Linked DNA regions of Homo sapiens: region 1 is linked to region 2. The links are contacts of gene promoters, found by promoter capture Hi-C in blood cells and fetal thymus (Javierre and others, 2016). All regions are on one chromosome and are shown on one strand. Each heading gives the region's core, a stretch centred on a gene start or on the middle of the fragment in contact. The rest is flanking DNA. Distances are from core to core; before and after follow the strand shown. Region 1 holds the start of CCDC82 (coiled-coil domain containing 82). Region 2 holds the start of SLC36A4 (solute carrier family 36 member 4).

Region 1 (4,220 bases), core at 1-2,500, 3.2 Mb after region 2:
CTCAAGAAAAGATTCATTCTAGAAATCACCTACTTGCTGTATAAACAATGCAGGTGGTAGTTAACACTTTACAGATTTGAAAGGCAGTGGAACCCCAGGTCATTATTTGAAATTCTACCAGGAGGGATCCATTCTTGGGTGTAAAACATCACTCCTCTTCGATGTTTTCTTTTATATGGCAGTTTGGAGAGCAAAGATTAATAAGCCGAAAAATAATTATTGAATATCTACCAAAATGCAAGCACCTGCTAGGAACTGTGCTGCCACCATTTCAAATAAACATGGTCTCTGCTCCCAAGGAGCTCACAATCTGATGAAATTACTAGGGACACCAAAAACAAGCCAGCATAATACACGATTTGAGGGCTACAGTGTATGATTAAGATCAAGTTCTTATCACACTGCTATGAATAAATTTATCATAGTTCTTCTATTGGCAGGAAAACAAGACAGAACATGACAGAAATAGGATATAAGAAAATAAACATAAAGAGAGGAAAGCCTATTTCCCCCACTTAGAATCACAGTCCAACAGTCCACAATTTCGCAAAGTGGATCCTGCCAGCATGGTATCCGGGATAACTATATTATTCATTAAAATCCGTTAACAATGAAGGTTAATGCAGCAGGAATGAGTGGTAGACAGTGGAATAGATCCTCTCAGGAATTAACACCCGGAAGGGTGACTTTCATGATTACAAACCTCTTTGGCGGGACGCAGGAACCCAGCGCCCGCTAGCCCACTAGTCCGTCACTCTGCCTCCAGGAGGGAGGGGCACAGTAGCTAGGAAACCGGACCCTCAGGCCAAGCTTCGCGATGACGCGCGCAGGACGACGGAAACCCCCAGACCCCAAAAGAGCTCTGCACCGAGAAAACAATTACAAGGGTCTGGAAAGGCCAGAAACCCGAGAAATCACCAACCGAGCTCCCTACATCAGTTCCAAGCACCTCCCCAAGGCGGAAATAACGGGCACCGCGCCCACTGCAGCTCAGCTGAGGAGGGTTAGAGGCGCAAAGGGCTGAGGGGCGTTCTCCGGCCCACCCAAAGAGCGCCCGCGGGAATTTTTCTCTTAGTCCGCGAGGAGGCACGGCTTCCCCCGCCCCTCTCATAAACCATTAGCACCGGGAGCGCGAGCGAGTCCCAGCCGGGAGACAGCCCCGCACCGCCCTCGCGCTCTCACCTTTCAAAGCGCCTCCACCTCTGCCTCCGCCTCCGCCCCTGCCCCGGCAACCAGCTCAGGACAAGCGATGCTCCTCCCCCCCTTCCGGGGACCAAGGGAAGTCCCGCCTCTGGGTGGGGCGAGGGGTGGGGCCAGGCGGCGGGAGGGATCATCTTCCGGGAGCGTGGCTAGGGGCGGAGCGACTGCCGCGCGATAGTCAGGGAGCTGTGCGGGTCCTGGTTGCAAGAGAGGTGGGGAGAGGGGCCTGGCGGGTTTTGAGGGACTGGGAGGACTGTCCCGGCTAAAGCTGGCGCGGGAAACTGGGGCTGCGCGGCGGGAGGGCCCTGCTGCTGGGGAAGGAATCTAATATATCCGTTCCCCTGAGGAAGGGTGCCAGTCCTTGACTCCTAGGCTCTTCGGCTCTCTGTCGTAACTTTGGGGTGTGGCAGGGGTTAGTGACGCGCGGTTACCCGGGATCTGGACGTGCAGGAGGTTCGTGGCCACAATGGGGGTATAGTCTTTCTCACGGCTGCTGGGGTAATAAAACACATGCTTTTAATCCGGATTATCCGCGGTGACATGGGGCCTCCGCTACTGCCCGTATAAGTTAAAGAAAGGCCTGTTCTCTCAAACTTCCTCCTCTTTCACCTTCTTCTGCAGTCTATTTGCCAGCCAACCCCAGCCCGGGAGGGGATCAGGGCCACCAGGTTGCTGGTAAGGATGAAAGACTGAGTGTGTTAAGACTGTTGAAGTGAGCCTGTGTAAGAGAAGGAAGGATTTTGTGGATTGCTACATTGTGAGTGTGGGGTGAGTCCCAGAACCTCGCTATGTCAGGGAAACGGAAGCGTGTGGTGTTGACTATTAAAGATAAGCTTGATATAATAAAGAAACTTGAAGACGGAGGTTCTTCCAAACAACTGGCAGTGATTTATGGAATTGGTGAAACAACAGTTCGGGATATAAGAAAAAATAAGGAAAAGATTATAACTTATGCAAGCAGTTCTGATTCCACAAGTCTTTTGGCCAAGAGGAAATCTATGAAGCCATCCATGTATGAGGAATTGGACAGGGCAATGCTGGAATGGTTCAACCAGCAAAGAGCAAAAGGGAATCCCATATCTGGACCAATTTGTGCAAAAAGGGCAGAGTTCTTCTTTTATGCTTTGGGAATGGATGGTGATTTTAACCCCTCTGCCGGTTGGCTAACTCGTTTTAAGCAGCGGCACAGCATTAGAGAGATTAACATTAGAAATGAAAGATTAAATGGAGATGAGACTGCGGTGGAAGATTTTTGTAATAACTTTCGAGATTTTATTGAACGAGAGAATTTACAGCCTGAACAAATCTACAATGCAGATGAAACTGGACTCTTTTGGAAGTGCTTGCCTTCTAGGATTTCAGTAATCAAAGGTAAATGCACTGTCCCTGGGCACAAATCAATTGAAGAAAGAGTCACAATCATGTGTTGTGCCAATGCAACAGGTTTACACAAACTTAAACTTTGTGTTGTGGGGAAAGCAAAGAAACCTCGCTCCTTTAAATCAACTGACACCTTAAACCTGCCAGTCTCTTATTTCAGCCAAAAAGGTGCATGGATGGATCTTTCCATTTTCCGACAATGGTTTGATAAAATTTTTGTGCCGCAAGTTCGAGAGTATTTAAGATCTAAAGGCTTGCAGGAAAAGGCTGTGCTCTTGTTGGATAATTCACCAACACATCCAAATGAAAATGTCCTAAGGTCAGATGATGGCCAAATATTTGCTAAATATTTACCACCTAATGTGGCCTCATTGATTCAGCCTTCAGATCAGGGAGTCATAGCAACGATGAAGAGAAATTATCGTGCAGGTCTTCTCCAGAACAACTTGGAAGAAGGTAATGACCTGAAATCATTCTGGAAGAAGCTAACTCTGTTGGATGCACTTTATGAAATAGCAATGGCATGGAACTTAGTAAAACCAGTTACCATTAGCAGAGCATGGAAGAAGATTCTCCCTATGGTAGAGGAGAAAGAGAGCCTGGACTTTGATGTTGAAGATATTTCTGTGGCTACTGTGGCTGCCATTTTACAACACACCAAAGGATTGGAAAATGTGACTACTGAGAACCTTGAAAAATGGCTTGAAGTAGACAGTACTGAACCAGGCTATGAAGTGTTAACTGATAGCGAAATCATCAGAAGAGCACAAGGCCAGGCAGATGAATCCAGTGAAAATGAGGAGGAGGAAATAGAACTAATTCCAGAGAAACATATTAATCATGCAGCTGCCCTCCAGTGGACTGAAAATTTATTGGATTATCTAGAACAACAAGGTGATATGATTCTACCTGATAGACTGGTAATACGTAAACTTCGAGCCACCATCAGAAATAAACAGAAGATGACAAAGTCAAGTCAATAATGTCATTTCAATTTTATTGTTCTGCTCATTGTGTTTGTGACAAACTCTTTGCAATATGGCTTAATTTTCTTTGTGTTCTGAATTCTCAGACTTGGTCCTGTGAAATACAGGCACAAAATGTATCTGAAGTGGTTTGAGGATTATGTGTTTTCATCATCTGTGTCTTTTGTCCTTTTATTTGTACAGATAATCAGAAGATGATACTGAATAGATATAAATTACATGTACACATGTATTCACTTTTTAGAATCTGCAATTATACCTTCTGTAACAGTGGCATTCCCTTAATTTTCTAGTGAAAGTTAGAGATAACTGAACAGACTGAAGCACTTTTCTGAAATCTTTTGCTTGATTTATGAAGGCTGCCATAGTTATCTTTTCTTGTGTTAACCATCTTAAATGATGTTTTGTATATTTTAATAGACTGATAGGATGAGAAAGATTTATATTATTAGATTTCAGGATGATTTATAATAATTCAAAAATGAAATTCAATAATGGGGAAATAATTATGAATTATAGAAATTATGCCTTCATTCTCTTACATTTGTGTGGGTTGCAAGAGGGGGAGATTATTCTGGAAATGAAGTAAATATGGGAAGTTATTGCCAAATGAGAGAGAAACTATGGGAAAGCTGATCTATAAAGAGGCATTCT
Region 2 (4,461 bases), core at 1,857-4,356:
ATCTCAAACTTAACATGCCCCAAACTGAACTGGTCTTCACCAGCAAGCCTGCTATTCCTGCAACTTTACCCATTTGTATTAGTTATCTATTGCTGTATAACAATTTATGGCTATTGTCCGGAGCCCTCAGTTTTGTGCAACATGGAGCTTTCCTTAGGGCTGCTTGAGTCTCCTCACAACATGACAGCTGGCTTCCCTTCAAGTGAGTGATTCAAAAAGAGAAGGCAAGGAGGAAGGCACAATGCACTTTATTATCTAGTATTGAAGTCATACATCATCACTTCTACCATAATCTATTCATTAGACACAAGTTACTAAGTCCAGCCCCCACTTGAAGAGAAGGAAATTAAGTTTCTCCTACTTAAGAGAAAAACATCAAAGACTCTGTAGGTATATTACAAAACCACCATAATATCCCAGTTAATAACAATTTCATTCTTCTAGATACTCAGGTCCCTGGAGTCTTCCATGTCTCCTCCGTTTTACTCTCTAACCCTCACCCATTCTGTCAGGAAATCACACTGGTTCTTTCAAAATATACCTAGAGACTAACTATGTCTATTCACCTCCACTGCCACTACCATACTGCTCTGAAGGACACCCATATCTTTCCTGAATTACTGAAATATTCTTCTGCTTTTACTTTTGCCCCCTTACAGTTTATTCGTCACATGGCAGTCAATGCAATCCTTTTAAAACAAGGCAGATCATGACACTCCTCTGTTCAAACCCTGCATTGTTCTCCCCTTCCCTCAGGGTAAAAGTCACAGTTTACATTACCTACAAGACCCTACATAATTTGGCCCCATCGCCACCTCCATCACTCTGCTTCAGCCACTTTGTCCTCCTTGCTATTCCTTTAGTTATTCTTTCTGCCTGGAGTAGTCGTTCCCCAGATATCCATTTGGCTAATTTCCTTACCTCTTCCAGGTCTTTACTCAAATTGTACCTTTTCAATAAGGCCCATCCCAACCATTTTATAAAATACTGTAAACTGCCTAGCCCCCACCCTCATTCCTGATTTCCCTTACCCTGCTCTTGTTTTCCATAGCACTTTTCACCTAACATACTATATAATTAACTGGTTATTGTCTTTACTGCTTACTCTCTGCTTCCCATTACTAAATACAAGCTCCATTAAGAACAGGAATTTTTATCTGTTTTGCTCACGATGTATCTCAAGTGCCTAGGGGAAGCTCAATGAATATGTGTTGAATTAATGAAAATATAAAACTTAAAAAAACTGAAATAATTTGAAACTTTTTTTCAGTTAAAGAAAATGTACATGCTGAACATCTTTCCACATCACTTTTAATGGTAGGCAATGTAAAACTATACCACAATTTAACCAATTTCCTTTCATTGTACTTTAGTTAACAGCTTTTCTCTATATACTATAATGAAAACCTCTTGATATAAGTATGGGTTACATTACTTATTTCCTCGGGAAATATTCTGAAGGAGAATTGCTGGGTCAAACGATAAGCACTTTTTTTTTTTGAGACAGAGTCTCGCTCTGTTGCCCAGGCTGGAGTGCAGTGGCACGATCTCGGCTCACGGCAAGCTCCGCCTCCCGGGTTCACGCCATTCTCCTGCCTCAGCCACCCGAGTAGCTGGGACTACAGGCGCCCGCCACCACGCCCGGCTAATTTTTTGTGTTTTTAGTAGAGACGGGGTTTCACCGTGTTAGCCAGGATGGTCTCCATCTCCTGACCTTGTGATGATCCGGCCGCCTCAGCCTCCCAAAGTGCTGGGATTACAGGCGTGAGCCACCGCGCCAGGCCGATATGTACATTTTTAAGGCTAAATATATTATCCCTTTCCTGCCAGCAATGCATGAGAATACCCATTTCTCCATATCCTCACTAAGACAGGTTATTAATGAATGAAACCTGAGTTCACATTTGGGTTCTGCCATTAATAAGCTTAAAATTACTGTATCTATAAAATGGAAATCATGATAGCACCTATCTCAGTTGCTGTGAGGATTAAAGACAATGCATAGGTAAAGCACTTAGCACAGTGTTTGCACACAGTAAGCACGCAATAAAATGTTAAGTTTATTGTTTCTACCATTATTACGGCCTGAAAACAATTCCATTGCAAAGTGCCCTGCAGGCTATTAGAGGAATAACAACAACCTATCAGTTACTTATAATACGGTATTTTTTAAAGTTCAACGGTTTTCTTGAAGATTCCATTTAGATTTAATTTTTTAATTACATTTAATCAGCATCGAATGAAAAATACTCCCAAGTACAGTACGTATAACTGGGAGAGCGATCATTTTACCACCCTGATCCTTACTTTTTTATTTTGGACAGCGGGAAACCGTAAACAAACACGCCCTGTCGCCAAGAAACAAGATGGGAGGAAAGCAGCAAAAAACAAACAAACTTTGCCAAGTGAGCAAGCTACAGGTATCTCCTGTTCATTCTGGTCAGCACGACCTGTTCGAAACTCTGGGATAACAAGGAGTAAAATGAGGATTCATCTGGAGATTCCGAATGGGGCTGCAGCATTTGAAAAGCAGAACAATGATAACTTCCTTAAAGCATCATTGGGAAAAAAACCGTGAGTCACGGCGCAGGCTCTTGCGTCTTTGACGTGTACCCACAGGGCCCCGCCCCACTCAACACACACACTCACCCACACGCGCGCGCGCAAACACACACACACATATTTTAACGCCCTATTCAGGCCTGGGCTTCGTCTGACCAAGTTCTCGGGGTCAGATAACCGGTTCCTTTGCGGATGCTGACCACGGGGTCAGTTAGCAATCGGGCCTCAACTCAGGCCAAGCGCGGGGCCCCTGGAGGTGTGGGCGCACCCGACTCCCGCACAGACCCCCGCCCACGTCAGCCCCGGCTCCCTGCCCACGCACAACACCGACCTAGCTCCTCGCGCCTCGCCGCCCCGGCAGCCGCCGGCGTCGCCGCCGCTTCCATCTCTCGCGGGTCTCCAGGACGCCGCCGCCCGAGTGCTCACTCTCCCGCCGCTGCGTGGCCGGCGTCAGGCCCAGGCCTACCTCCCCTGCCCGGAGGGACCCGCGCCTGGTGCCCGCCTCCCTGCCCCGGCGCTCCCCAACCGCGCGGCGAGGAGCATGCGCAGTGGGACAGCCCGGCTCGGCGGGCACCGCCGGCGAGGGGCGGGAGGGGCCGAAGACCCGAGGACTGCTGCGAGGCCGGGTTGGGTAACCCGAGAGGAGGGTTGGGTAACCTGAGATCAGCGAGGGTGGGACCTTAGAGCTAGCCGAGACCCGGGCCCATAGCTCCCTGGGGGTTTTAAAGATGACGGCGAACTTAAATTTGGGGCGCCTGTCCGTATGCAAGGCGTTAGCGTTCTGTAAGTCACCTTGGAGAATGCGAAGAAGGACGGGATTTGTCCCCTACCCATGCTGAGGTTCTGACTACTCTGGTTATTCGTCTCCCTGTTTCTATAGTTAGAGTTACAGGAGACACTTAAATAGAATTTAATTAAGTCATATACAATTTCACTTTCAGGATATTTCAATGTCCTTCCAGATATTTGACGTTGACCGTGGTGCTGAAAGAAAATTAAGGTAAAGACTAAGTGTACTGATGTAGTTTCAAGTACTCCTAAGCACCATACATACATTATCTTTAATTCTGACTACAATTTGTGAGATAATTCTAATATTTACATTAACGCTAAAGATGAAGGGATTAAGGCACGGAGGTAAGTAACGTGTCTGGGGACAGGAAGCTTGTACATGGCAGAAGTAGAATCCTTCTGCCTTCAGAGCTGGAGCTCTCGAAAAATATGCAAAGCTGGCCTCCCAGATGGGTACCAATGAATATTCGATGAATCAATGGATGAAGCAAGCTTTTGGTTTAAAAGGAAAATATTTATTTTAATTTTAAAATCGCTTTCTTTTTTTTTTCACTTCATAGTTCTTGGAAGTCAGTACACCAGACAATCCTTTTTATTTGTGTCCGTTTCATTCAGTGGGGTTGCTTTAGGAAAGGGTTTTTTTGGGGGGGAGTGGGTCTGATTAACAGTCACTGATGTAACTATATGGCAATGGTGTTAAATATTTAAAATTCTGAGATTAAAAAGGTACGCAGTTACATACTATCTACATCTTTCCTCCTGTTGCATCCTCTGTAGGCTTTCACTAGATAACTAGTGATAATGACAGTTTGCCAACCCCCTTTCTTTTCCTTTAAGTGAACCCAATTTGTTCACATACATACACATGCAAATCCCAAAAGAAGGTTTTATTTGAAGTGTTCCTGACAAATAAAGGGGTAAAGGAGATTTTTTTTAAAAAAGAAGAAGAAGAAGAAATCTATTCTGGAACATAGCTAGAGCAATGTTCCCTAACCTGTGTTGGGGTGGATCACCTGGTTAAAGATCAGCAGGAGAGAAGATAGGCATCAGACAGAAATTATAGGACCAAGGTAATTTTCCATAAACCACTCATTATAATGAGAACAT

Evidence for each region. The method cuts DNA at HindIII sites, captures the fragments that hold promoters and counts their contacts. A CHiCAGO score of 5 or more calls a contact.
Region 1: a contact is called between the fragment with the promoter of CCDC82 here and the fragment with the promoter of SLC36A4 in region 2, in 7 of 17 cell types (total B cells, fetal thymus, naive CD4 T cells and 4 more). The highest score is 9.9, in total B cells.

What each region holds. Positions count from the first base shown.
Region 1 is chr11:96,388,662-96,392,881 of GRCh38, forward strand. CCDC82 (coiled-coil domain containing 82) reads right to left here and starts at 1,251. Exons shown (of 10, transcript NM_024725.4): 1 at 1,183-1,251. It overlaps JRKL (JRK like), which reads left to right and starts at 1,352. Exons shown (of 2, transcript NM_001261833.2): 1 at 1,352-1,412; 2 at 1,822-4,220. The coding sequence starts at 1,989. The coding sequence ends at 3,563. RefSeq lists a silencer at 1,165-1,424. The HindIII fragment of the contact is 1,223 bases long and covers 809-2,031 here.
Region 2 is chr11:93,194,885-93,199,345 of GRCh38, forward strand. It overlaps SLC36A4 (solute carrier family 36 member 4), which reads right to left and starts at 3,107. Exons shown (of 11, transcript NM_152313.4): 1 at 2,894-3,107. The coding sequence starts at 2,948. RefSeq lists a silencer at 2,869-3,248. The HindIII fragment of the contact is 1,801 bases long and covers 1,924-3,724 here.